Regions from separate parts of the Homo sapiens genome. Here regions 1, 2, 4 and 5 are each linked to region 3. Evidence: promoter capture Hi-C in 16 types of primary human blood cells and fetal thymus (Javierre and others, 2016). All regions are on one chromosome and are shown on one strand. Each heading gives the region's core, a stretch centred on a gene start or on the middle of the fragment in contact. The rest is flanking DNA. Distances are from core to core; before and after follow the strand shown.

Region 1 (5,832 bases), core at 981-3,480, 560 kb after region 3:
GGTGTCCTCAGTCTCTAAGCCCTGGGAAGCTTGTCTTTTAATCCTAATAACCTCCCCTTTCCTACATGTGCCAAAATTAAACCGTTCAAGACTTTCCAAATATAAAATTCTGCTATCCAGGATTTATCAAAGCAAGACTTTCCTTTCCTTTCTTCTTCTTTTTTTGTTTTGTGCCCCAGGTGCTCAACTACGTTCAGTCCGACCACCAGGGAATCCCACCCTGTGCAGACTGTGCTCCAGACCAGGAATCCTAAGTGAGCAGCGTGGTCTCACTATGCGGAAACCCAGCTGATCTTGTAAACTTGTTATTGCCTTGGCCGAAAGTGGATGTCAGAGCAAAGTCCAAATCAGCTCAGAAATACCCAAGTGATCTGCACATCACAAGACTGCTTCTGATAAGATGTGACATTTACCGGTGACATGTCCAGCAACAGCAACAAAGAACCAGAGAAGGCTCACAAAGCTGACCCTGGAACGGGAAGTTTGCTTGCCTTCCCCAAGCTTGCTGCTGTGTGTTGTTTACTTTCTAAGTTGCACGGTGACCTCATCTCTATGCTGTTCTCTAATTTGTTCACCTGGCCGCGTTACTCTCTAACTGCTCTGGTGCCTTTCATGGAGATAACTTCGCGGCTCCCCTTCTCCACCCCATGATTCACACAATAGAAACTTCACAGAGAGCCAACCTGCTGCACACCCACAGCAGCACCCTGAGGGACAGAGTGTGTGGCACACACACGTGGACCCACAGTCAACACCACAGACATCCACGTGTCACCAGAACACACTTGTGCACACCACAGACCAACATGGACTCAAGACGCCCTGTATTTCTCCTGTCCCAAGTGTAAGGGAATAATTATGTGACCAAGCTCACCGCTTGCCATCGGTCCTAACTCTAAATTCCATGAGAGGGGACCTGAGCCTGGGAGGCTCTCAGTGTTTGTGAAACAAACAAATGATACACAGGCATGTGCAAACCCAAACCAGCTCACCTTCATGCAGCCACACGGCGTCCAGAGAGCCGTTTCATTGACATGATCTCATTTCATCTTTGCCAGGAGCAGTGAATCAGATGGGCTAACAGTGGGGCACTGAGGCTCCGGACCATTAAGAGACACGCCCAAGGTCACATAGCCGGGAAGCAGAGAGCTGAGACTCTCCCACTTCTCCCGATTCAAATCCTACATTCTCTATTCTACACCAAATGGCCTCATGTAAGCATAGATACACATGCACGCACTTACACATGGACTTAGGGGAGAAACCTGCTATTTCACACTGATGGAGGTAATCACAGTCACATACACACCTACCATGACCTATGCACATGGAGTCACACAATCACGTGTGCCTAGGTATAGACACCCATGCCCTCCCCACCCCATTCTGTCCTCTATCCAAGACCACGGGCAATGCAACACTGTGTGAGGAGTCGGTCAGGACTGTGGGTTATAATCCACCTCCCAGCCTCTACATTCCCATCCAAGAGAGCAGTAGACCATGAGTTATTTTAATAAGATTTCCCCATTCTTGGACTAACTTCCAAAAACCTTAAAACTCATAGAACCTTAATTTAACCATAGGTCATAATAACACCTCTCATTTATCAGGGGGTTCCCTCATGTACCTTCACATAAAGTCTATAACTTGACCTCTACCACATCCTGAGGGAAACTAGCAGGTGAGCTATGTAATGCTGCCCCATCCTACAGACAAGAAAACTGAGGCCCAAGGAAGTGAAGTTCCTTGCTCAGGGTGGCGGCTAATAAGCAGGATTGGGACTTGAATACAGAGTTTTAAGTCCGAGTGAGCCCAGAGCCCTTTGAGAAACACCCCGTTGAGATAATGTCATTGAACCTTGCTCCCTCTTTTTAGAGATAAGAAAACTGATCCCCCACCTCCACCCCCATTGCCTCTCTGGGAGGGCCCAGCATGCTGGAAGCAGCATTGGGACTGGACTCTTGGTTTGACACCCAGGACTAAACTCTTCTCCGGACCCCAAGATACATACCCACTGCTCCCGCCCCCAAAGGAGAGGGTATTGTTCAACCAACCTTGGACCACAGAAATCGCTTCTGTCCTGAACACCCTGGGCTGGGATCTTCAGACAAGAGGTCTCTGTGTTAGGCTCTGCTCCCTGTCAGCTGGAAGTTGTGTCCAGTGAGAAGTCAGACCCAGCTCTCCCAGGGAGAAGATGCCACTACTTTGGTGCTGGCAATTTTCTGAGTGTCTCAGAAGATGCTTTGGCCGTCCATATATACAGTATCTCCCAGGAACTGAGCTCATGGCAGCCAATCCAGAGAGCCATGGGCTGGCTCACCTTCCTCCACCTGTTACCACCCATCCCAGGACTGCTCCCCGCTCCTCCAATGATAAGAGGCTTAGCTCAGCTACCCTGGAAAAAACAGTTTCACTTGTCAACTTCCTTATTGCACCCAAACCCCAGTAAGAAACCAAAGCTCAGAAAATAACCTAAGGTCTGGCTGGGGAAAACCCCACCTGTAGAGTTGAAAACAAGACTTAATGGGAAATGCAGGTTAGGGGGAGAAAGTCGAGGTGGCTTTATTGCCTTTACAACATCCCTCAGTTATCTTTGAAGATTAGTGGGGAGGGAGGTACCTAGAAAGAAAGGTCAGCGATGGGATACATACATCCCTTGACCTGGAGACAACCCAGAAGGAAGAGCCCACAAGAGCCACGTGTTCCAGATCTGCTATGCCCGGGAAGGGTTGCCATGGATCTTGAGAGAACATTCTAAGAAGTCTTAAAAAGTCAGATTTCCACTTTCTGTAATGCCTTATTTTAAAAAATAGAGTGTAAATACATGTTTATAATCAGAAAAGAAAAACATGTTTTATTAAAATGAAAGCAAAGGCCGGGCACGGTGGCTCACACCTGTAATCCCAGCAATTTGGGAGGCTGAGGCAGGCGGATCACCTGAGGTCAGGAGTTCGAGACCAGCCTGGCCAACATGGCGAAACTCCATCTCTACTAAAAATACAAAAATTAGCCAGGTATGGTGGCAGACACTTGTAATCCCAGCTACTTGGAAGGCTGAGGCAGGAAAATCACTTGAACCCAGGAGGCAGAAGTTGTAGTGAGCTGAGATCGTGCCACTGCACTCCAGCCTGGGTGACAGAGTGAGACTCTGTCTCAAAAAAAAAAAAAAAAAAAAAAAGAAAAAAAAAGAAAAAAATATTAAGAAATTCTGTTTTGGTTCATTAACACAGGGAGGCATCACAAAATATATATGGAAGCACCAAACTTTGGAGTCAGCCCCATCTGGAGACACCTGCCAGCTGTGTAACCACAGCAGGGGACATGATGTCACTGAGCTTGTGCTCACTTATAAAACAAGTAGTCATCTCAGAGGGTAGTTGGGCCAAATGCGATAATGCTTACAAAGAAAAGAAGAAGGCCAGGCATGGTGGCTCACATCTGTAATCCCAGCACTGTGGGAGACCAAGGTAGGAGGATTGCTTGAGCCCAGAAGTTCAAGACCAGCCTGGACAACATAGTGAGATCTTATCTCTACTAAAAATTTTAAAAATTAGCCAGGCATGGTGGCACATGCCTGTAGTCTCAGCTACTCAGGAGGCTGAGGCAGGAGGATTGCTTGAGCCCAGGAGGTCAAGGCTGCAGTGAGCCATGATCGTGCTACTGCACTCCAGCCTAGGCAACAGAGTGAGATCCTGTCTCAAAGGAAAAAAGAAGAAAGGAAGGAAAGGAAGGAAAAAAAGAAGGAAAGAAAGGAAGAAAGGGAGGGAGGGAGGGAGGAAGGAAGGAAGGAAGGAAGGAAGGAAGGAAGGAAAAAGAAAGAAAGAAAGAAACAAAGAAAGAGAAGGAAAGGAAGGAAGAAAGAGAAGGAAAGGAAGGAAGGAAATGTATGGAGTGCCAGACATCTTTCTTTCTGTGTATTAACAGTGCCTGGTACTTGTAAGGGCTCAATAAAGGGCCAATGTTTTATTACGGGCAACAGAGTTATTAATGCTTCATTCATTCTGTCAACAGGTTTTGGATCCAGCTATGTGACAGACACTGTCTCAGCACTAAATTTAGAATTTATTAGTCCAAGAAGTCACTCAGCCTTCAAACAAATGTTAAATAATATTACATATTTTTCATTTATTTAATGAAACTATTGTGTCAACCACTTCTTCCAGGCCCTGTGTGTATTGTATGTGTTCTTTCTTATTCCAAGGTGAATATGCCCAGCCTGGCCCAGCCCTCATGGAGTCCATAAAGTAGTTGGGAAGAGAGAAACACACAGAGAAAAATCATACAAGCAAGCAGAAGGGAATAGGAAGTTGTTTAATGCGTACAGAGTTTCAGTTTGAGAGGAATGTGGTACCACTACCTCCACCATTCAACCATCTCCACAACTTTTGAGATGTGGAGGATTTTCACAAGGCACACTCAAACTCAACTTTTGAGTTTGGAGATGGTTCAATGGTGGAGAGTGGTACAACAATCAAAATGTGCTTAATGCCACTGCACCGTACACTTTAAAAAGGTTACAACAGTCAACTTTATGTCATGCATATTTTACCACAATAAAAAGAAGGGGAGGGGCAGACAGCCACGTGGCACACCGTGCAGACATCTCCCATGTACCCAGCAATCCCATCTGCAGGTACATACGCTCCTAGGTTCTCACGGGAGGGAGAACCATCATGGGCAGCTCTGGGCATCCCACGCCTTCTCCATCAGGGGTCCGGGGGGCAACCTAGCCCTGTGCTCAGTGCCTGCCAAAGACCATATCCTGGAGACGATCTCCACGATCTGGAGACAGACTCTGGCAGCTGCCTGTCCCAGGGCCAAGGTCGGCTACACTACGAGTGAGCCCCCATGCAAAATGAAAACAAAGCACCCTTGTTCAAAACGTATTAATAGTTTCAAGACAGACAGCAGAACATTAAACCAAGCCCCCTGCCCTTCTGAGTGCACACCCTGTGCAACAGTCCAGGTCACACAGCCTTGAAGGGGGCTCTGAAGGTGACAGTTCCCAACCATGTGCTGGGAGGGAAGATGGCAGAGGGAGAGAGAGGGAGATTGAGAGAGAATATCTTTAAAATTTTTATTTAAGTATAACGTATAAAAAGGTGCACAGATCACAGGCAGACAGCTCAATGAATTTTCACGAAGGGAATAAACCTGTGTAACCACCACCCAGATGAAGAAAGAGAACATTCCTGGCACCCCAGAACCCACCTTGTTGCCCTCACGACTCCCAGATTAGATTAGTTTTGCCTATTTTTGAGCATCATCGGTCTGCATGTTTTCTTTTATGCCTGGCTTTTCTCACCGCATGTCTGCGGGACTCAGCCATACTGCTGTGCTGTCATTCTCAGACGGACAATCCCAAGTGTCAGAGCCCATGTGGGGCAAACAGAATTCTCATACGCTGCTGGTGGGAGTGGAAAATGGTGCAACTACTTGGAAAAATCGGCTGGCAATATCTATCAAAGCTGAACAAACACCTGCCCTGTGACCCAGCAATTCCACCCCCAGATAGATACACAACAGAAATGCATCCCCATGGCCCCCCGAAACAACTTTGATATGAATGTGTATATCAGTGCTGTTTGTGAGAGCCAAACTCTCAAAAACTTGAAACTACTTAAATGCCCATTAACAGGAAAATGTACAAACAGTGGCATATTCACACAATTGAGATTTTGTTGTTGTTTTTTCCAGAGAGTCTGTACATTTGTTTATAAAGATTTTTCACCCGCTTGTGTGGGCTGCGTGTGCAGCACGGGGCACGGAAGATAAACGTGGTCTTGGATAAAAATGATGGTAGCCAACGGAGAGGAGTGGGTGGAACACAGG
Region 2 (5,602 bases), core at 313-2,812, 610 kb after region 3:
TACTTGAGGTCAGGAGTTTGAGACCAGCCTGACCAACATAGTGAAACATTATCTCTACGAAAAATACAAAAATTAGCCGTGCGTGGTGACCGGCGCCTGTAATCCCAGCTACTCAGGAGGCTGAGGCAGGAGAATCACTTGAACCCGGGAAGCGGAAGTTGGAGTGAGCCAAGATCACGCCACTGCACTCCAGCCTGGGCAAGAGAGCAAGACTCCGTCTCAGAACAAACAAACACTATTTTCAAAAGAGAAAAAGAAAGGATAAGGATACATTTCTGAATCCTAAGGTCTCACCACGGGAAGCCTGTATCTTTACAATTCAACAATCAGCATGGCCCCCAGAGATGACGGGGTTCATCCATTCAGATGAGAAAATGAAGAAAGTGGCAGGATTTTGTAGGAATAGGAAGCTCCTTCGGGCTCATGCCCAGCCACAGGCTGCCACAGCACGGAAAGGAAAAGTGAAACCAGCTCCATCAAGTCATTTTTCACTCTAGGATTGTCAAAAGCTTTACATTCATCTCTTGGGATCCGAGGAGAGATATCTGCCGAGAGAGAATTTGGATCGGAGCCAGCAAAGCAAACTCCAGAAGCCTTGGCTGCTGCGAAAGGGGATTCAACACCTTTCCGGGTCGTTCTCACTTCATTTCCAGCCGGTCCCCCTTTGGTGCTGTTTCCCAAGTAATCAGACCTCAGGGGTTGCCTCCTGGTGGGGAAAGGGAAGCTTGCCTTGCTGGAGAAGGGGCTCAAGGCACAGGACTTGCCTCGGACTTGCCAAGGAGGCTTGCAGGAGGCTCTTTGTCTACTCCTCTGTCCTCATCCAAGTAAGAGGAGCGGGGAATTCCGAGGCTGTAACTGCCTGGGAAACGCCAGCCACGGAGCTGCTGAGGATCAGACTCCTGGGTTTCAGCATGGAGGCCAGGGAAGGGTCTGATAATGGGTATGGGTCCTGGCGAGAGGGGAGTGGAGAAAGGCCTTGGAGTGGGACGGGGCGCCAGCTCTGGGGGCAGTCTCGAGGCACCTAGAAAACCGGCGAGTGGGGAGAGGCTGCTAAAGAGGGGCTCCCTGCGAGAATGCGTTCACCAGCTGTGAGGACCTGGCTGGCGCACGAACTTCCAAAGACCTCACATCTGGTTGGTGTAGGGGCGACCAGTGGTAAGGGGGCTGCGGAAAGGGCCCGCAGGGGCTGTGCGTGATGCCTTCAGAGCTGTGTATGACACCGAGAGAGTCAGGGGCGGTGACCCGCGTCTGGAGGTGGAAGGGGAAGTGAGTGAGGGATGGATGTGAGGTTTAGGAATGTGTTGGAAAGAGAGATTCCCGCCAGGTAAAAGGTCTGATAAAATAGGTTTGGAAATCTAGGTGGTGAGGAAAGGATGCGGGAGCAGGTGGCTCTGCGTGCGCGCTGCGTGTTCAGCCGCCAGGCTCTTACCTGCATTACAGGTGGAGGTGAGGAAGCCACCGGCTTTCTGTCTTGAGCGCTCCCCTGGCTGTGGCTGCTGGGGCCCTAGGCCCGCGCCCCGCAGTCCTCCTCCGCCAAACCCCTAACCTGGCTCCGAGAACTGGAAGGTCGCGTGGGAGGAAATCTCTTTCGAGAAGCGCCAAGGCGTGTGCGCCCGGGTCCTCCGCAGGCGGGCAGGCGCGCGAGGCGCTCCGGTAATCGCTATCCTTCCGGGAAACGAAAACGAAAGAGCGGGATGCGGTTCCACTTGCGCCGCTGCGGGCTAGGAGCAGGGCAGGGCAGGGCAGGGGCCGGCCCCGTGGGAGCGCAGCACCGGGGCGCTGCCCGCTCGCTAGCCTGGGAGGCGTGGGTCCTGCACACAGCCTCCAGCCGGCGGACAGTCCCTCTGGCGACCTGGCCTTGGCTCCCACTGGGGCAGAGCCGGGATTCTGCAGGATCTGAGGATCTAAGGGGACCCCTAGTCCTGAACTCGGAACCAACTGCGTCTCTCACGGTCCCGAGCCCAGGACCAGGAAGGACCCTGTGAGTCTCCGCACATAGGATAGGAAGGGGCCTCGCATGGTGCCTCTCCCTTTAGGGGTGAGTGACCTTCCCGGCCCCGATACTGTCTCGGCCTGCCGTTTGGCCCCGCTGAGGCCCCACAGGTCCGGAACCGTCGCACCACCATCAGAGCGGCTGTGCTCTCCTGAGCAGGGCCAGACTACTCGGAGATCCCGACTGACACCTTTTCCTGGGCCTCTGGGTGCTCCGGGGTTGGTGCCTGCCCACCCATCACCCTTTCCATCTGTCTCAGCTCCCCCTGTCTCAAGAGAGGTTGTGCGCATAAAAACAAACCAGAAGACACCGAAGAAAAGGAAAGAAAAGCATTAACAACCTTCTGCTGAAAATCTGAGGGTGTAGACGCTGTTACAAAGTAGGCTTAGCACTGGTATATCATCACAAGCTCTAGGCCAGCAATAAGAAACCAGTAAGAACAAGGCCAGAAACCCAGTAGGAAAAAAAAATGAGCAAAGGATATGAATAAACAGTCCACATAAAAGGAAATGCCAAATGGCTCCTGAATATACAAAAAGATGCCCAGGGTGCAGTGGCTCATGCCTGTAATCCCAGCACTTTGGGATGCCAAGGTGGGAGGATCGCTTGAGCCCAGGAGTTGGACACCAGTCTGAACAACATGGTGAGATCCTGTCTTTACTGAAAATTTAAAAAATTAGCCGGGCATGGTGGGGCTACACCTGTAGCCCCAGCTATTCAGGAGGCTGAGGATGGAAGATCGCTTGAGCCTGAGAGTTGGAGGCTGCAGTGAGCCGTGACTGTGCCACTGCACTCCAGCCTGGGCAGCAGAGAAAGAAAAAGATGCTCAGACAAACTCACTATTTTAAATGTGCAAATTAAAGTTATTCTGAGATAGAAATTTTTACCCATAAATTTGGCAAAAATTTAAAAGTTTACTAACATAATCTGCTGGAAAAGCTGAGGTAAAGTGGTGCAACCCCACAGCGGGGTCTGGCAAATTTACAAATGCATTTTCCTTTCACCCAGCAATCTGCCTACCAGAAATTTATTCAACAAATATCCAAAGTATACATAGTTACTTATTTAATCATGGTTTATAATAGCAAAGTATGAGAAATAACTCAGGTGTCCACAAAAGGAGGCTTGATAAACTAATGCACATTCATTTCTTTTAATTTTAATTTTCTATTTTTTTTTTTTTTTTAGAGACAGGGTCTCACTCTGTCGCCCAGGCTGGAGTGCAGTGGTGCCATCAAAGCCCACCTTAACCTCCAACTCCTGGGCTCCAGTGATCTCCCACCTCAGCTCCCAAATCACTGGGATTACAGATGTGAGCCACCACACCCAGCCAAATTATGTACATTCATTTAACTGAATACAATACAACACTTTATGGAGTTCTCTGTGGATCATGGCAAGCTCTCCAAGAGGCAGTATGGCATAGTGGATAATAATCTAGACTTAGGAACACCTGCCTGGTTTGGAATCCCAGCCATGTCATTTACTGGCTGTGTGCCCTTGAGCAAGTTTGTGTTAACCACTCTACTGCCTCCCTCTACTAACTACTGCCTCAATTTTTTAACAGTAAAAAAGAGCAAATAATAATACCTATCCCATAAGGTTGTTATGAATAAGTAAGTTAACTTTTATAAAACACCCAGAACAGTGCCTGAACACCCACGCTAAGTAAAAAAATCAAGGTACAAAACAGTGTGTATTACATGCTACCTCTTGTATGTAAATATACGTGTGTGTGTGTGTGTGTGTGTATGTATGTATGTATGTATTAATTAGTATTTATACAAAGAACCTCTGGAAGGATACATAAAAACTAATAAGCATAACTGGAATTTAGAGTAGAAAATAATAGAAAGGGTTTTTGTTGTAAACCTTTTCACATGGTTGTGATTTTTTTTTTTTTTTCTGAGATGGGGTCTTGCTCTGTCGCCAGGCTGGAGTGCAGTGGCATGATCTCGGCTCACTGCAACCTCCGCCTCCTGGGTTCAAGCGATTCTCCTGCCTCAGCCTCCCGAGTAGCTGGGACTACAGGTGCGTGCTACCACACCCACCTAATTTTTGTATTTTTAGTAGAGACAGGGTTTCACCATGCTGGCCACAATGGTCTCAATCTCTTGACCTCGTGATCTGCCCACCTCGGCCTCCCAAAGTGCTGGGATTACAGGCGTGAGCCACTGTGCCTGGCCTTGTTTTGATTTTTGAATCATATAAATAAAAACCTATTCAAAATAAATTTTAAAAAGACAGTTTTAGGGCTAGTCAGCCAGAACCTAAGTAATAATAGAAATAAATATGCACTGCCTGCGACAGACTAAAAAATGGAGACATTTCCCTTTGGAAGGACAAAGTCAATGCTATGTATAATCAAAGTCTACAAACCAATATGAGCAGGAATAAGTGGCTAGACCCTGCTGTGGGGTTCCTCCTTCAAAAAAGAAATATGCACAGGGGTTTCATGCTCAATAAAATAACAATATTTATTTCATTTTTAGAATTTTTTAAAATAACACTTCCCCTATGAAGAACTCAAGATACATATGTAAACTTTTAATTTATAACAACAAGCTTTCCTAATATTTATAATTCTTTTAAAGGAGGGGAGAGAGGGACTATGAGGTAGACAAAAAGGTAAAAGAAGAAGCATGCAGGTGAAAGAACTGCCTAACAGCGTGCAGGAGAGAATGAGTGAAATACATTCCACAGGCAAAGGGCCCACCAACCAATAATAGCAAAACCATCCAGCAATAGGAAAAGAGAAGTTTTTGCCTAGTGATAGATTCATAACTCTTTCAGGTCTTACATTCTTCTAGAAGGCAGGACTGTTGGCCAAGGACTAAGCACTCCCGATTTTAAGCAGGCATGCCTAAAAGAGGATGACAGAGCAGGGAAAGATACCTTCGAGCAGGGTCGAGTGGTATGGGAAAACACTGGAGTGGTGAAGGAAGACTTGAAGGGGGTCACAGAGGAGTGAGGGGATCAAAGGTGAGAAAAGAACGTAAATGTTGTAGAATCAGAGCCTGAGAAGGAAACACCCAACGGTGCTAGTGGTAGTAGTGGGGCCTCTAGGCATGGAAATGGGAAGGTAGATGAGATGAGCCATATGTTGAATTTGAGTATTAGAGACAAATGTTTCACTTCGATTTTCCAGAGAGGGTTGGAGCCAGGATTGGGGCAGGGAGGTGACATGTCACCGAGAAGGAGAAGCTGGCACTGCAGATCTGGACATGAGTGACAAGAGTGGAGCCAACAGGTCACCAGAGGGCATGGTGCCCAGGGAGTGGGCCAGGAGGTAGTGCCCATTTCTGTGGCCTTTAGTTTGAGGACGAGGTTCTCTTTCATTCCTGGAAGGAAATGTTCAAGGTTTCCTCACAAGGAGCCCTGGGACCATCCACAGCGCTGGTGTTTTCTGGGCAGCAAGGCTTCCTGGGGTCCTAATTACTCCTTGGGCTTTACCGTGATGTGATCGCAGACATCTCATAGCTAGCTCCTCCGAAGAGACAAATGGCTCGTGAACCCGCAGTTCTTCAACAAACTGGGTGTAGACCAACAGTGATGGGTACAAAAAGAGGGAGACGGAGAAGGGTGTTCTTCCCATCTGTCCCAGTGGGA
Region 3 (5,735 bases), core at 1,431-3,930:
CCTCAACTGAAAATAAAGGTTCTGAACTAGTTGTTTTTGAGGAAACCGGAAGATCTCTGGCTTAAGAAAAAAAAAAGCCATGCCCATAATATTTTGTACAGAATTCCAGGGGCTTCACCACCCCTCAGGGCCTTCAGTGGGTTCCCCAGGGGCTGCTAACCCTGACACGCAGTTGCTGGCCCCTTGCCTTCAAATTTGCCACTTTCCTAAGCAGTCAACAATACTTCTCAAGTATCTAACGGTCATGGGGGTATGGGCAAAGGAAGCCGGTGAAGCAGTACAAGGAAGTATCCATCCCCAGGCCTCCTCTCCAGTTCACAAATGGTCTGCGTGGATGGGTCGCTAGTCAGCCAAGGTAGCAGAACACACATATGAAGAGAGCTCAGACCGCGACTGCTGGAGCCCCCTTACTAGGTAATGATGGGAACCCCCTTACTAGGGCCAAAGCCCTCTGGCCGCCCGCAGCAGTGTAGATCAGTGGTAAGAACTTGGACCCAGGAGCTAGAATGCCCTGGATTTATATCTGACTCTGCCATTTAATCCTGTTCCTTGGGCAAGTAACTTTATCTTGAGCCTTCAGGTTCCTAGTCTGTAAAACAGGGCTAAGAGTTACGCAGCAGAAATGATAGTAGATGCTAAATATTCCAAGACTCCTTTGAATTTCCCAGCCTCCCTTGCAGAAGGTTAGAGGGTTGGGATCATGTGACTAGTTCCAGCAGGTGGTTTGTGAGTGGAGAAGGCAGGTCTTCCATGGAGACCTTGGATGCTAGTTTTTTTTTTTTTTTTTGAGACAGGGTCTCACTCTGTTGCCCATGCTGGAGTGCAGTGGCACGATCATAACTCACTGCAGCTTCAGCCTCCCGAGTAGCCAGGACTACATGCATGTGCCACCATGTCTGGCTAATTTCTTAAATTTTTTTTGTAGCAATGAGGTCTCACTATATTGCCCAGGGCTGGCCTTGAACTCCTGAGCTCACGAGATCCTCTCAGCCGGGCATGGTGACTCCCACTGGTAATCCCAGCACTTTGCGGAGGTTGCAGTGAGCCGAGATTGTGCCATTGCACTTCAGCCTGGGCAATAGCGTGAGACTCTGTCTCAAAAAAAAAAAAAAAAAAAAAAAAAAAAAAAACCAAAAAAACCCCCAAAACAACTGATCCTCTCTCCTTGGCCTCCCGAAGTGCTGTGAATACATGCATGAGCCACCATGCCCAGCCAGAGGCCAGTCTTATAGATGGCTACAGGATGGAAGAAGGGTATCTTGCCCCAAATCAGACTGTACATAAAGCATTATTGTGCCAAGCCACGAAATTCCAGGAGTTCTGTTGTTACAGCCAGTGTTAATTACTCTGTGACAGCTAGTGTTAATACAGGGAGGGCTCACGGAAATAATGGATACAAGGCCCTCTGAGTGCGGTGGGGGCTGTTATTCTTGGCTGTTATTCCCCACCAAGACAGGATTCCTCGGTTCATTTCTTAAGCGAAACTTCAAAAGCAGAAGCAGGCTGGGAGTGGTGGCTCACGTCTGTAATCCCACCACTTTGGGAGGCCGAGGCAGGAGAATCTCTTGAGCCCATGAGTTCAAGACCAGCCTGGACAACATAAGGACAACCTGTCTCTATAACAAATATTAACAATACAAAATTAAAAAAAAATAGAAATTAAAAAAAAGCAGAAGCAGGCAGGTGGGGTGAGGTGGAAGCTTCATCCATAGGGAAGTCCTGAGGAAGGCCTGCCTCCCCCGGTTCCAGGATTGCTCTGTGCAGCTCTAGCTCTCCCTTAACCCTCCTCCCTATTCTGAGTTTTCTTCTCTTCCCACTTCTCCATTTTGCCCCCACATCTTGACTTTCACACAATTCACAGACAAATCCTTAGACAATTAATAGAATGATTAAGACTGCAAGAGATTTAAGACTTAGAGACCATCTTGTCCCACCTCCTGGTTCTTACAGAAGAGGAGAATGGGGCCTGCAGCGGGTGTGAGCAGCCCAGAGGGTGGGGCTGGATTATCCCGAAGGTAAGGGGAGAATCTGGGGCTGCAAGGGCAGACAGAGAATCAACATCAGGAAGGAAGCTCTTTTTATTTCAGCATATATGTTTTGTGCCGTTTATAAAAATAAAGTTTTGAGGCCAGGTGCGGTGGCTCACACCTGTAATCCCAGCACTTTGGGAGGCTGAAGCAGGACCATCACTTGAGGCCAGGAGTTAGAGACCAGCCTGGGCGACATGGGGAGACCCCCGTCTCTACAGAAATTTTTAAAATTATCCCGGCGTGGTGGCGCACACCTGTAGTCCCAGCTACTCGGGAGGCTGAGGCAGGAGGATCACTTGAACCTGGGAGGCGGAGATGGCAGTGAGCCGAGATCACGCCACTGCACTGGGCGACAGTGCGAGACTCCGTCTGTAAAATAAATAAATACAATAAAATAGAGTTTTATCTTACAATAAAAATAGAGTTTTATCTTACAGTTTCAAGCTTCTACTTGGAAGTAACACGTATGGAGGCTCCCAGGGCCCCTACAGTCTGGAATCCCGCCCGTGCGAGCCTGAGCGCCTTTCCTCCCTCCTTCCCTTCCGCAGGCGTCCTCGCCCTCCACGTCCCTCCTCCGCCGGGGTGGCCTGGGGCGCCGGGTCACGTGGCCGGGGAAGAGGTTTTATCCCGCGGCCCCTCGGAACCCCGCCGCTGCTCTGCCGCCCAGGCCCATGGCCGCAGCCCTGGCGCTCGTGGCGGGGGTCCTGTCGGGGGCGGTGCTGCCCCTCTGGAGCGCGCTTCCGCAATATAAAAAGGTGAGCCGGGGAGCGCGCCCAGCCGGCCGCGACCGCAGGAGAGGGTGGCCCCGCCGCCGGGGCACTGGAGCCCGAAGGCGCCGGGCAGCCTGAAAGGGAGAGGTGGGTCCGGAACCACACCCAGGCGGGTAGCCTGGGGCATCCTCAGACGGACTTCAAAAGCCGCTTCACTTTCCCCTGGTGGCCTCAGAGGGGAGAGAAATTGGCCTATGACCAGCACCCTCGCTCCCTCCACCTCCCCCGCCCGTGCCCCTTCCGATGGCCTCAGTCCTGGGCTCGCTTCCCTCCCCAAACTGCTCACAGGCAAACCCACCCTGCATGCTCTGGTTTCTCCTCCTCTTCTTCCACCTCCTCTCACTGTCTAGTGATTCTTCCAGGCACGAGGGCTCTCCCCTTTTCTCCTCTTTCTCTCCCTCTTTTTCGAGCCCGCAGCCCCTTCATTCTCATCCCCCAACCCTGCCCCGCAAAATGGGACTTAAGAGTACACACCCCATGGGACTCATGGAGGTGAGGGGGGTCCAGGAAAGGAGAGGCCGAGGGAAAAGTGCTAATCCCCCTCTCCTCCTCTCTGCTGCCCTGGGTCCTGCTGAGGGGCCGGGGTGGGGCTGGGGGGGGAACCAGCCCCCCAAGGGGTGACAACCTCATGACTTCTCCTGGATCCCTGGGCTCTTTGGCAATGGTGGGAACCCTCCCCTACCCGCCCACACGACTCAGGGATTGCTCCCAGCCTGGCAGACATTCTGCCTGTCCCCACAGAAAATCACAGACAGGTGCTTCCACCACTCTGAGTGCTACAGTGGCTGCTGCCTCATGGACTTGGACTCCGGTGGAGCCTTCTGTGCCCCCAGGGCCAGAATAACCATGATCTGCTTGCCCCAGGTGAGGCCCTAGTATGGGGCAACTTCTGGCAAGTAGAGAAGCGGGCAGGGAGGTTAAAAAAAAAACACCTGGCCCCACCTGTTTTTTCACCTCTGTCTGGAGTGCCCTTCTTCTTCTCCACTTGGCAAACTCCTACTCATGGTGCAAAACAACTCCAGCCACCTCCTCTGAGAAGGCTTCCCTCCTTGGAGCTCCTGTACCCTGGGGTCAGACCCTCAGCAGACCATGTATCTCCCTAACTGGCCATGTCTTTTCTCTGCCTCTCCCAGTGGTTGGAACTCTTCAAGGGCAGGGATCGCATCATATTCATCTATGAAGCACCTACCCCCAGCTTAGTATCTGCACATAGTAGGTGCTCAATAAATGCTTATTGTTGTTTGTTTGTTTGTTTCGAGATGGAGTCTCGCTCTGTCACCCAGGCTAGAGTGCAATGGCATGATCTCGGCTCACTGCAACCTCTGCCTCCTGGGTTCAAGCGATTCTTGGGCCTCAGCCTCCCGAGTAGCTGGGATTACAGGGGTGCACCGCTATGCCTGGCTAATTTTCGTATCTTTGGTAGAGATGGGGTTTTGCCATGTTGGCCAAGCCGGTCTTGAACTCCTGACCTCAGGTGATCCACCTGGCTCGGCCTCCCAAGGTGCTGGGATTATAGGCATGAGCCACCGTGCCCGGCCAATAAATGCTTGTTGAATGAATGAATATCTCTTCTCTCACACCACTGAGGCAGGGTAAGTAGGAAATGACCTTCCCCTTACTAGTCCCCATCTCCCTGCCACAGTGACATGATTTCTTGAGAGGAGCATGGCACTGCAGTGGCAGGACCACAGCTTTGCAGTTGGACCTGAGTTTAAATCCTGACTTTTCCACACCCTATCTTTGTGACTTCAAGCAGGTCATCATGGCTCTCTGAGCCTTAGTTTCCTCATCTACAAGGAGAGGCTAAAGTACCTACCCCACCAGGCTGTTGGGAAGATTATGTGGTCCTGGCAAGGAGAGTGTGCAGTCCAGCATGGTTGTCACTCGCTTTTAGGAATGCAGGGAGCAGAATGCTCAGTACGCCCTGTTCCTGCCCACCTGGCCCTGGGCCCAAACCTTTCTAGGATGGATGGACCCAGCCTCTATGTCCCTGTGTGGGGAGTTGCCAATGCCCTAAGGAAGCAGCAGGGCCCCTACCATGGCCTGACCCTATAGCTGAAGTGGCTAGAGGGTTTTTATTTTTTTTATTTTTTGAGACAGAGTTTTGCTCTTGTTGCCCAGGCTGGAGTGCAATGGCGTGATCTTGGCCCACTGCAACCTCCACCTCCTGGGTTCAAGCAATTCCTCTGCCTCAGCCTCTGGAGTAGCTGGGATTACAGGCATGTGCTAATTTTTATATTATTAGTCCATGACCATGTTGGCCAGGCTAGTCTCAAACTCCTGACCTCAGGTGATCCACCCGCCTCGGCCTTCCAAAGCGCTGGGATTACAGGGGTGAGCCACCGCGCATGGCCTAAAGGGTCTTTTTATTATCACCACTTGATCTGCTCTATCTCATTTAGTCCTCACAACAACCCTATGAGGGGGGTTACTATTACTGTCCCCATTTGACAGATGAGGAAACCGAGCTGGAGAGGTTCATTGACTTGCTGAAGGTCACGCAGTTATAAGCTGTAGAGACAGCCCAGGTCTGTCTTACTCCAGGCCTGGTACTCTTGGTTCTGGTCCCCAAGAAGTTTAAGTCCCCATCCTTCCTGCATCCTGGTGACTCCCGATTCTCATACCCACTCCCTGCAGACCAAGGGAGCTACCAACATCATCTGCCCTTGCCGGATGGGCTTGACGTGCATATCCAAGGACTTGATGTGTTCCCGCCGGTGCCATATGATTTAGAGGAAGATGCAGGCTGGTCACTGCTCCCTTGGGGCCATAGGCCCTGGTTGCCACCAACTTGCTCCAAATCCAGCTCCTGAGACATTAAAGTCACTTCCTGTCCTTGGCCTCTGTCTGTACTTTCTGGGCGAGGGGACCTGGTGGAGATTGTACCAGTCCAGGGGGCAGGCAAAAGGGGAGACTGGAGGCATGAATGAGCTTC
Region 4 (5,776 bases), core at 2,576-5,075, 520 kb before region 3:
TGGAAGAATAAAGTCAGACATGTTTCTAACAGAAAGTAGGTCTGATTTGGCTGATTGGTTTGAAATGAAAACTGGCTTTGCCAATTCCACAAATGGCAGTTGTTTTCTATACAGTGAATGAGCTGAATCTGCATTTCAGTTTAACAAAAAGTTCTTGAAGACATGTAATAATTAAAGAATTTTACCAAAAAATATTGTGTAGGCAAAGAAGTATGGAAATCAATATCTGATTAACAAAGTGTCTCTGAGTGTAAAGGTCACAGATAATTAATAATCATGTTTAATAAAACCAAAACTGAGACTCTAATAACTAAATCCTTTTGGAAGTTCAGTGGTTTCTAATCCTTTGCTTTTAACAAAATTAAAAGAAGACTCTATTTGATAGTATTAATAGATCACTCTGTGATTGTTGGCATATAATTTAGAAGTTCAAAGACTCAAAGAATATCATTGTAACAAATCTCTTCCTTTCCCAATTGTGGAAACAAGGTTTCTCAATACTCATGTCTATAAAAATAAAAAACAGGTAAAGGATTGATGTTGCACCTTATCTCCTTCTACCATTAGGTAATATTAATCCATGAATACCTGAACTAATTGGGGAGAAACACCATATTTCTCATTAACAGATGCATTTTCAATAAAAATTGTACTTTTTAGGTTTCACAAGTCATAAAAATGTTAAAAATATTTAGGAAAATTTAGTATTTAGTAATATTTAGTAAAAAAAAAAAGTTTAGTAAGTTATATACTAATGATTACAGGAAGTGAATGGAATTCAAAGTATAAGGAGAAAGAGAACCATATAAAATTTCTGTTGAAGAGCTTGTTCATATATTTTTAAGTGGATGATGGTAGGCATTAGATTTTTAGGGTACTTGGAATCCACCGGATACTTTTTTTTAATGTGAGACAGTCTCACTCTGTAGCCCAGGCTAGAGTGCAGTGGCACGATCTCAGCTCACTGCAACCTCCGCCTCCCGAGTTCAAGTGATTCTCCTGCCTCAGCCTCCCGAGTAGCTAGGACTACAGGTACGCACCACCATGCCCGGCTAATTTTTGTATTTTTAGTAGAGACAGGGTTTCACCATCTTGGCCAGGCTGGTCTCGAACTCCTGGCCTCGGGATCCGCCTGTCTCAGCCTCCCAAAGTGCTGGGATTACAAGCATGAGCCACTGTGCCTGCCCTGCCAGATACATTAAGAATGATGTAGACCAAGTGTGGTGGCTCATGCCTGTAATCTCAGCACTTTGGGAGGCCAAGGCGGGCGGATCACGAGGTCAGGAGATCGAGACCATCCTGGCTAACACCATGAAACCCCGTTTCTACTAAAAATTAGCCAGGCATGGTGGCGCATACCTGTAGTCCCAGCTACTCGGGAGGCTGAGGCAGGAGAATTGCTTGAACCTGGAAGGGGAAGTTGCAGTGAGCTGAGATTTCGCCACTGCAGCACTCCAGCCTGGTTGACAGAGCGAGACTCCGTCTCAGAAAAAAAGAATGATGTAAGTCTTAGTTTAAGATGTCAAAATTTGAAATTGTATCCTCTATAAGTATTTAAATTAATGAAGGAAAATTTAGGTATCAACTTAAAAATGAACAAGAGGTACATAGCTCTTCAAAATTCTTTTATGGGTTCATTCTAAAAAATGTCTGAAGATCACCAGCCTATATGTTGAGTGGAAGGGATAGGAGAGAAACTGCTAGCAATGGTCTTCAATACTGCCCTCCAAAATATCCTCACCAATTCTCCTGAGAACCTGAAATTACCTTCCATTAGGATCATTACTTCAGATTCAGACACTGTTTCCCAGAGCTCTTGTTAAATGTATAATTGCAGAGGTGACTGGCCATCAGATTACGATCCGTAAGGAATGTGAGAAAAGACAGATATATATATACAGAGAGAGCTATGGAAAAAGGGTGGTTGGAGAGGGACAAACTCAGGTACAGCCTGAGTTCTATTCCCTGCGGTATTTCTAACCCTCAATTCATATTATAAGAGGAGCTACTTAATCTTCTCTCTGTATCTATAAGGTACTTTTTCTTTTTCTTTTTTTTTTTCTTTTTTTGAGACGGAGTCACACTGTTGCCCGCGCTGGACTGCAATGGTGCGATCTTGGCTCACTGCAACCTCCGCCTCCCGGGTTCAAGCAATTCTCCTGCCTCAACCTCCGGAGTAGCTGGGATTACAGGCGCCCGCCACCACGCCCAGCTAATTTTTTTGTATTTTTAGTAGAGAGGGGGGGTTTCACTATGTTGACCAGGCTGGTCTCGAACTCCTGACCTCGTGATCCGCCCGCCTCAGCCTCCCAAAGTGCTGGGATTACAGGCGTTTAAGCCACGGCGCCCGGCCTATAAGTTATTTTCTATGGGAAATAACTTGTCAAACTTCCACCAAAAAGGAATGGAAAGAGGGCAGCATAGTGGCCAGGCAGTTTATTTCCATACTAGGAGATACAGAAGGGATTAATTCTAACCGTAGGAATTCTAACCATCAAATGTCACTCACTGGCCTACCTAAACTGAACTCTGGTCCCAGCCAGAACAAGTCAGGAAGAGGGGATGTCTAAGACCGAAAGGGGGGCTTTCTAGTTAAGCTCTTCAGGCAGGAGAGGAAAAGGATGCCCGCATCCCCAAAGACACCTTTAGCTACCACAAGCCCCAAACCCCGTACTTTGTAACTGTGTCTAGTTTACGTCCTTTAAAAATTATTCTTATTAAGTTAAATTGTTTTCGGGGCGGGGAAGATACAAAAGAAACCAGTTAAAGTCTGAAAGGATAGAGAGGGGAAAGTTTCTCACCTCATTCTTCCAGCCACCCAGTTCCTCTCCTAAAAGGCAATCTTTACCAGTTCCTTCTCTAACGCCCCTCCTTTTTAATTTGATTTTTTACCGAAAGCTCGCTCCCTTTTAATTTTCCCTCAGGTTTCTGAAAATTTCCCAATCGCAGCCCCTCCCAGCAGGGAAATAGTAAAGGGGCTTGGTTTTTATGTTCAACCCAAAGCAAGCCTACAAAAGGGAGTAGTCGGTTTCGAGCCTGACGGTGGAGCTGACGCGGGAATGAGAGAGAACCTGAGAAGACCGCCAGGGCGCCCTCCCTGCGGAGGCGAGTCCCTCACCGCCCCTCTACATCGTCCTTTTCAATAAGGAGCTCTTAATACCTGCAACTGCTTCCTTCAAGGGGTGGCTGGAAGATCAGTAGGCAAGGCCTGCGGACTGCGCACCTTAAAGCGCTTCGGGACCGTAAGACAGTGAGTGCTGAGCGCGCGGCCGGGAAGAAGCCTGGAGGCTCTGAGCTCGGAGGACAGAGACCGAAGCCCCAGGGCCTGCGTCCCTCACAACCTGCGCCTCCTGTCCTCCCGCGCTACTCCCGAAGCGCACCTTCTCGCCCGCAGGCCGCAGAAGTGATGACGCAAAGCCCTCGGGGCCTCCGCCACCTCCTCACGCTTCTGCTGGACCGAATCCTTGGAATGGACAGGTAGCGGTTCCCGATTGCTATAGCGACGACCCGGCTCCGAGCCGCGCCCAGGCCCTGACCCGGGCGTCGTGACGTCAGCACGCCTTCCCTGGGCGCTCAGCCTCGCTGGCCATGCGTCACCCCGGCCTTGGTGGGGGCGGGGCTCCGAAGAGCTCGGTTCAGATCCCGGCCGCCTGGGCTCCAGGAGCCCCGGAACCAGGATAAGTTGGATGGCTGCCGCGGCGAAGCGGGGGGCGGGGTGGACCGTGCCCGGTATTTTCTATACGGGTTCCGGGGCCCGGTAGAGGCGCGCCAAGAGGAAAGGAAAGTGCGGCGGCCCTGGAACCTGGATATCGCGCGAGGCAAGCTGCGCGCGGGCGGGCGGGCTATGGCGCAGGCGGGTTGTGGGGCCGGCGCTGGTGGCGGGGCCCGGTGCATGGCGGTCTGTCGGCGGAGTCGCCCTCGGGGGCTGTCAGGTTGGTGGCTGCGGGAGGAGTGGGCCAACCATGCCCAGGGCGGGAGGCCGGGCGGGCGCAGGACCCCGGGAAGGTCCCGAGCCCGGCGTGCCCACCTCCCTCCGGCCCTAGCAGGGCGGCCTGGCCGCTGGACCGCGGCCGGGCCCCCTCCCCCACCCAGGGTCCCTGCCCCTCTTTTCCGCCTTGCGGCTCCTCCCCCGTGACTCCCAAACCTCACCCCGTGACGGCGCCCGCCTCCACCCTTGTGACCCCACACCCCACCCACTGACCCCAAGACCTCACCAGGTAACCGTTGGTTATTATTCATTGGCTGCTAACCCAGGAATTTCCCCAGCACTTCTCAGAGACCCACCAACCAGTGACTCCCTCAGTTTTAATCCGGTGACTCACATGACCCTGAGATCCCCACACTCCTCCTTAGTGACCCCCAAACCTGGGTAACCCTCCTGGCCCAGTAACCCCCCCGATTCTACCTTGTGTTCCCCACAAACTCGGTGACTCCCCTCAAAACTCTGCTGGCGACTCCTAAGCCCTACTCCAATAGTTTTCCACGCACTCACCTTGTACACAACCCTCAGTATCTTTATCCTGTAGCCGTATGACCCTCGTTCCACGTCTGCCTTTATCCTAAAATCACCCCCACTGGCATCTCTCTCTGCGATCCCAGCCCTTCAGTGTCAATCAGCACATGACTTACAAGCGTCCAGCACCTTTCTGGTGCTAAGGAGGATATAGAGATTAATATGAAGTAGTAATAATTGGAGGCATCAGAGAATTCTGGATCAATCCAGAATCCAGTCAATCCAGTGTGTGGTCCCAGCTCTGTCACTGCTGTGCTTTAGGGACCTGTGAGAAGTCCCCTCCTCAGTCTGGACCTCAGTTTCTCATCATGACTGTGATGAGGTTGGGTTAGATGATCTTTGAGTTTCCTTCCGTCTGTGAAATTGTGAAATTATGCAGTTCTCAGTCAAGATAATAATTTTTTGCAATCATTTTTGTACCCCACCCTGGAAATTTCCTCTTGTAACCTCATCCCAGGATCTGCTTGCATCATGAACCTTACTCCCTCATTCCCGGATCACCCTCTTCACTCTTCATAGTGCATACCCATTTCCCTTGATCAGGCCCCATCAGTTAACATGTTTGCAAAGCAGTATAGCAGAGTGCTTCATTTGGGGGCATTGAGTTCATAACAAACCTAGGTTCCAGACTGATTCTGGCCCTTCAGCTATGGGACTTTTGGTATATTATTTAGCCTGTCTTAACTTCAGTCTCCACCTCTGCGAAGGGAGAAAATAGTAGTGCCTGACATAACATATGTAAAGCACCGGGCACCATGCCTGGCTCATGGGAACCCTTAGCATAAGCTGTTGTTAGAAATGAGAAGCTGCTATGGATCTTACTCTGTCCTGAGTGCTAGGGATTTAACAGACTGAACATGTGGCCCATACCTTGCATTATGTTGCTACTACTGACATCTTGGAATCCCTATCTTCTCATCTCTGCTGTAGCCTCACTTCTCTGGTTCTTACCCTGATTTTGCCTCAATAACGATTGGCTTGCTGAATACCTACTGTGTGCCAAGCTCTGGATATATAAGTTAAATTTACGTCTCAACAGCCCCAAGAGTTAATTATTATTATATCCACCATTTTCCCTTCCCATATTTTTGTTTGGTTGGTTGGTTGGTTTCAGAGAAATGAACCAGAAACTCTCACAGCTAAGTAGCAGAGCTAAGATTTGAACCCACAGTTTAAAAAAACAAAACAAAACCCTACTCCATTGCCTGTCTTTCCCCCAGACTTACTCAACCTCAGCTCCTTATTCCTTATTTTCTAGTAATT
Region 5 (5,127 bases), core at 243-2,742, 810 kb after region 3:
AAAACTATTTGAACTTGAAATCAAATGAAATAATGTATTATTTTTTCATACAAAGTCTTTAAAATCCAGCATGTATTTTTCATTTACAGCACATCTCAATTAGGACTAAACTTGCCACAGGTACCTGTGGCTACCATATTGGACAGCACAACCCTAGATCAGTTCTCTAGCCTTCTCAGCCCTGCTCTGTGCCCTGGCCAACCAACCTCTAGACTTGTATCACCCAGCTCTCTTGCCCTCAGGCTTCCAGTTGGTTTTGAGCAAAAGATGTCACCATTAAAAGATGGGACAATGGAGAGAGTGGTTCTAGCCCCACACCCCCAAAACTGGGCTGCCACAGTTCCTCTATCTAAAGCTATAATAGCTCATCTCCCACAGCAACAGCAGCTGGCTGTTTTTGGTAACCCTGCTCCCTTCCTTGCCCCATTGGGCCTACGAGCTGCCTTTGGGATTGCCCTTACCCACTATGGGTTTCCTTAACTCTGCCCACACCCCTGTACATAATTCCCTATGTGGTTAACTCTTTAAGTGTGCCATCTGGTTTCTGCCAGGATCTTGACTGAACCATGTAGTTAATGAACTATTGTGATGGTTCATGCTCTTTTTTAAAAAATTTTTACTTTTTTTTTGAGACGGAGTCTCACTCTGTGGCCCAGGCTGGAGTGCAGTGGCACAACCTTGGCTCACTGCAACCTCTGCCTCCCGGGTTCAAGAGATTCTCCTGCCTCAGCCTCCAGAGTAGCTGTGATTACAGGTGTGAGCCACCATGCCTGGCTAATTTTTGGGTTTTTCTTTTTTGAGACGGAGTCTCGTTCTGTTGCCCAGGCTGGAGTGCAGTGGTGTGATCTCGGCTGACTGAACCTCTGCCTCCTGGGTTCAACCGATTCTCCTGCCTCAGCCTCCCTAGTAGCCGAGACTACAGGTGAGTGCCACCATGCCCAGCTAATTTTTTGTATTTTGAGTAGAGACGGGGTTTCACTGTGTTAGCCAGGATGGTCTCGATCTTCTGACCTTGTGATCCTCCCACCTCGGCCTCCCAAAGTACTGGGATTACAGGCGTGAGCCATCGCGCCCAGCCAATTTTTGTATTTTTTAGTGGAGATGGAGTTTCACCATGTTGGCCAGGCTGGTCTCAAACTCCTGACCTCAGGTGATCCACCTGCCTCGGCCTCCCAAAGTGCTGGGATTACAGGCATGAGCCACCACGCCCAGCCTGTGAAGGTTCATACTGTTTAAGATTTTCCTTCACGGATACTTGAAGTCAATCACAATATTTAAAACATTAAATATTTTATTATTTATTTATTTATCTATTTGTTTTGAAACGGAGTCTCACTCTGTTGCCCAGACTGGAGTGCAGTGGTATCTTGGCTCACTGCAACCTCTGCCTCCTGGGTTCAAGGGATTCTGCTGCCTCAGCCTCCCAAGTAGCTGGAATTACAGGCGCGCACCATTATGCCTGGCTAATTTTGGTATTTTTAGTAGAGACAGGGTTTCGTCATGTTGGCCAGGCTGGTCTCAAACTCCTGACCTCAGATGATCTGCCTGCCTCAGCCTCCCACAGTGCTTGGATTATAGCCAAAAAAAATTTTTTTTTCTTCTTAGAGACAAGGTCTTGCTATGTTGCCCAAGTTGGAGTGCAGTGAAATAATCATAGCCCACTGCAGCCTCGAACTCCTGTACTCAAGAGATCCTTGCCGTCTCAGCCTCCTGAGTAGCTAGAACTACAGGCATGCAGCACCACTTTGCTAATTTGTTTTTTTAAATTTTTGTAGAGACAATAGTAAAACTGCTGGTTTCAGAACACCTGGCCTTAAGCGATTCTCCCATCTTGGCCCCCCAAAACATAAAACATTAAACCAGGCTGGGTGCAGTGGCTCACGCCTGTAATCGCAGCACTTTGGGAGGCTGAGGCGGGTAGATCACGAGATCAAGAGATTGAGACTATCCTAGCCAACATGGTGAAACCCTGTCTCTACTAAAAATACAAAAATTAGCTGGGCTTGGTGGCGCATGCCTGTCGTCCCAGTTACTCAGGAGGCTGAGGCAGGAGAATCACTTGAAACTGGGAGGTGGAGGTTGGAATGAGCCAAGATCATGCCACTGAACTCCAGCCTGGTGACACAGCAAGAATCTGTCTCAAACAAACAAACAAAACAACAACAACAAAAACATTAAACCTTATACAAAACTCTTAGCACCTGGCCATCAGTAATTTCTTTCTTTTTTGAAAATTTTTTTTTTCTGAGCAGAGTCTCACTATGTGCCCCAGGCTGGAGTGAAGTGGTGCAATCTCAGCTCACTGCAACCTCTGCCTCACAGGCTCAAGTGATCCTCCCAACTCAGCCCCCTAAGTAGCTGGGACTATAGGCGCACAACACCATGCCCAGCTAATTTTTGTATTTTTTTGTACGGGGCGGGGGGGTCTTGCTATGTTGTCCAGGCCAGTCTCAAACTCCTGGCCTGAAGTGGTCCTCTCGCCTCAGCCTTTCAAAGTGCTGGGATTACAGGCATGAACCATTGTGCCCAGCATTTTTTGTTTTTAATTTTAAATTAAACATTTTTTAAATTTTAAGTTAAAAAATATATATACGTGGCCAGGTGCAGTGGGTCACACCTGTAATCCCAGTACTTTGGGAGTCCGAGGCGGGCGGATCACTTGAGGTCAGGAATTCCAGACCAGCCTGGCCATCATGGCGAAACCCTGTCTCTACTAAAAATAAAAAAATTTGTTGGGCGTTGTGGCAAACGCCTGTAATCCCAGCTACTTGGGTGGCTGAGGCAGAAGAATTGCTTGAACCCAGGAGCCAGAGGTTGCAGTGAGCCAAGATCACACACTGAACTCCCAGCCGGGGCGACAGAGTGAGACTCCATCTCAAAAACAAACAAACAAACAAACAAAAATAGTGAATTGGTAACAGGTGAATTTTAGAATTGAAAGGTAACTTAGTACCATGCTCTCAACTTGAGATAGTGAGAAGTCTGTGTCAGAATAATTTTTGTACTTGGAATCTTGGCCTGGTGTGGTGGCCACTTTGGGAGGCAGAGGCAGGAGGATCACTTGAGCCCAGGAGCTCGAGACCAGCCTGGCCAACATAGCAGGACCCCCACCTCTGTAAAATAAAATAAAAAAGAATATTTGTATTTAGAATCTTTCTGATGTCTAATGACAGGAAAAAATCTAACTCAAAGTGGCTTAAGCCACTTTGAGGAAAGTGTAGGAACTTGTATGGTGATCTCTTTGTGGTGGGTGTTCTGGTTCCAGGACCCCTGAGGATACCAAAATCCAAGGATGCTCAAGTCCCTTATATAAAATGTAGTATTTGCATATAATCTATGCACATCCTCCCCTATAATTTAAATCAACTCTACATTAATTATACCTAACACAATATAAGTAAATGGTTGTTATGCTGTATTATGTTTTATTCTTTTAAAAAATATTTTTGATCTGCAGTTGGTTGCAGGAACCTGAAGATACAGAGGGCTGACTGTATGTTCAAGTAACTGGGAATTCAGGCTGGGCTTTGTGGCTCCCACCTGTAATCCCAGCACTTTGCGAGGCTGAGGCGGGCGGATCACCTGAAGTCAGGAGTTCAAGACCAGCCTGGCCAACATGGTGAAACCCCGTCTCTACTAAAAATACAAACATTAGCCGGGTGTGGTGGTGCACACCTGTAATCCCAGCTACTTGGGAGGCTGAGGCACAAGAATTGCTTGAACCTGGGAGGTGGAGGTTGCAGTGAGCCGAGACCTCGCCGATGCACTCCAGCCTGTGCAACAGAGCAAGACTCCATCTCAAAAAAAAGAAAAAAAAAAAAGCCTTCTTAAGCAAGACTCTCCATGGCTCCTTATTTCCCACCTTGCAGTTCTCCTTCCCACTGTGTTGGGTCTACCTCAGGCTGCTTCTTCCCTCCTGGAAACAGGCTGGCTGCCCCGGCTCAGGACTGTGCTAATCAGGGGAAATAGCACACCTCTCTCTGGTTGGCCTATGAACAGTGCTGGATCAGCAGCTGACTGGTCTGACTGGATTACTCATCCTCATTCCTAATGGTGGGGGAGGCACAAGGGAAGGACTAAGAACTTGGATGATTTAATTAATCCAGAATGGTTACCTCCCTACCCCTGAAAAAGAGGGGTGTAGGACCCAACCACATTCAAATCAATAATATGTACTACTGTGAGAAAGGTGGTTTCCCAAAGAAAATCAAGAGATATTCCTACAACATATGATTCCCATTCTGTGTCTGTACCAAAAACCCTGATATGTCTCCTTGAAGCTTCAGGTAGTCGAGGGTCCAGACAAGAGTAGTGGTCGTATAAGTTTAAAGGAATATTAAAATACTCCACAGGACTAGGTGTGGTGGCTCCCATCTGTAATCCCAGTACTTTGGGAGGCCAAGGTGGGCAGATCACTTGAAGCCAGGAGTTCGAGACCAGCCTGGCCAACGTGATGAAACCCCATCTCTACTAAAAATACAAATATCAGCCTGGCGTGGTGGCGCATGCCTGTAGTCCCAGCTACTCGGGAGGTTGAGGTAGGAGAATCGCTTGAACCTGGGAGGTGGAGGCTGCAGTGAGCCGAGATGGAGACTGTGCCACTGCACTCCAGCCTGGGTGACAGAGTGAGACAACAACAACAACAACAACAACAAAAAACACCTCTAAAGCAAGTGGATAATTCATTTGTCTGAAGTCGCTAGAAGATGAAAAGTTGTGGATGGCCAGGGGAGGTTCAGAATGTTTTTGTTACTAGAGGTAGAGGGATTAAGAGAGTTCCACTGAAAGACAACACACTTGACTAGACTTGACTAGCACCACACACAAAAACAAACAAACACACAAACAAAAAACAGGAAAAGTGGTGGGAAAGAATGGGAAAATGAGATGGGAAAAGAAAAATTTTAAAAGGCCAGCATTTATTTATTTATTTATTTATAAGACACGGTCTCATTCGATTACACTGGAATGCACTGGAGTGCAGTGGCACGATCTTGGCTCATTGCAGCCTCAACTTCTCAGGTTCAGGCGATTCTCCCACCTCAGCTTTCTGAGTAGCTGGACTACAGGTTCCCATCACCACGACTAACTTTTTGTATTCTTAGTAGAGACAGGTTCTCCCCATGT

The links. Contacts are between HindIII fragments. The CHiCAGO score rates a contact against its expected background, and 5 or more counts as called.
Region 1: the fragment with the promoter of BNIP5 here is called in contact with the fragment with the promoter of CLPSL2 in region 3 in 7 of 17 cell types (neutrophils, total CD4 T cells, naive CD4 T cells and 4 more); the score reaches 8.4 in neutrophils.
Region 2: the fragment with the promoter of ETV7 here is called in contact with the fragment with the promoter of CLPSL2 in region 3 in 2 of 17 cell types (total B cells and fetal thymus); the score reaches 5.5 in total B cells.
Region 4: the fragment with the promoter of ZNF76 here is called in contact with the fragment with the promoter of CLPSL2 in region 3 in 4 of 17 cell types (total CD4 T cells, erythroblasts, non-activated CD4 T cells and 1 more); the score reaches 11.0 in total CD4 T cells.
Region 5: a contact is called between a fragment that was not itself captured here and the fragment with the promoter of CLPSL2 in region 3, in 1 of 17 cell types (neutrophils). The highest score is 5.1, in neutrophils.

Annotation. Positions count from the first base shown.
Region 1 is chr6:36,334,658-36,340,489 of GRCh38, forward strand. BNIP5 (BCL2 interacting protein 5) reads right to left here and starts at 2,231. Exons shown (of 12, transcript NM_001010903.5): 1 at 2,055-2,231. The HindIII fragment of the contact is 11,027 bases long and covers 500-5,832 here.
Region 2 is chr6:36,386,107-36,391,708 of GRCh38, forward strand. It overlaps ETV7 (ETS variant transcription factor 7), which reads right to left and starts at 1,563. Exons shown (of 8, transcript NM_016135.4): 1 at 1,430-1,563. The coding sequence starts at 1,435. It overlaps ETV7-AS1 (ETV7 and PTX1 antisense RNA 1), which reads left to right and starts at 514. Exons shown (of 2, transcript XR_926758.3): 1 at 514-824. PXT1 (peroxisomal testis enriched protein 1) reads right to left here. Exons shown (of 5, transcript NM_152990.4): 5 at 4,445-5,602. RefSeq lists an enhancer at 634-1,457 and a silencer at 1,584-1,793. The HindIII fragment of the contact is 3,834 bases long and covers 723-4,556 here.
Region 3 is chr6:35,773,918-35,779,652 of GRCh38, forward strand. It overlaps CLPSL2 (colipase like 2), which reads left to right and starts at 2,681. Exons shown (of 3, transcript NM_207409.4): 1 at 2,681-2,785; 2 at 3,542-3,664; 3 at 5,438-5,635. The coding sequence starts at 2,702. The coding sequence ends at 5,533. It also overlaps the pseudogene CMPK1P1. RefSeq lists a silencer at 2,662-2,791. The HindIII fragment of the contact is 8,503 bases long and covers 2,473-5,735 here.
Region 4 is chr6:35,255,910-35,261,685 of GRCh38, forward strand. ZNF76 (zinc finger protein 76) reads left to right here and starts at 3,826. Exons shown (of 14, transcript NM_003427.5): 1 at 3,826-3,932. It overlaps SCUBE3-AS1 (SCUBE3 antisense RNA 1), which reads right to left and starts at 3,546. Exons shown (of 4, transcript XR_001744102.2): 1 at 3,381-3,546. RefSeq lists silencers at 3,809-3,928, 3,939-4,258. The HindIII fragment of the contact is 17,247 bases long and covers 1-5,776 here.
Region 5 is chr6:36,586,440-36,591,566 of GRCh38, forward strand. No RefSeq gene overlaps it. Among named protein-coding and RNA genes, the nearest start is that of SRSF3, 5.4 kb to the right of the region's middle. The HindIII fragment of the contact is 5,571 bases long and covers 1-4,278 here.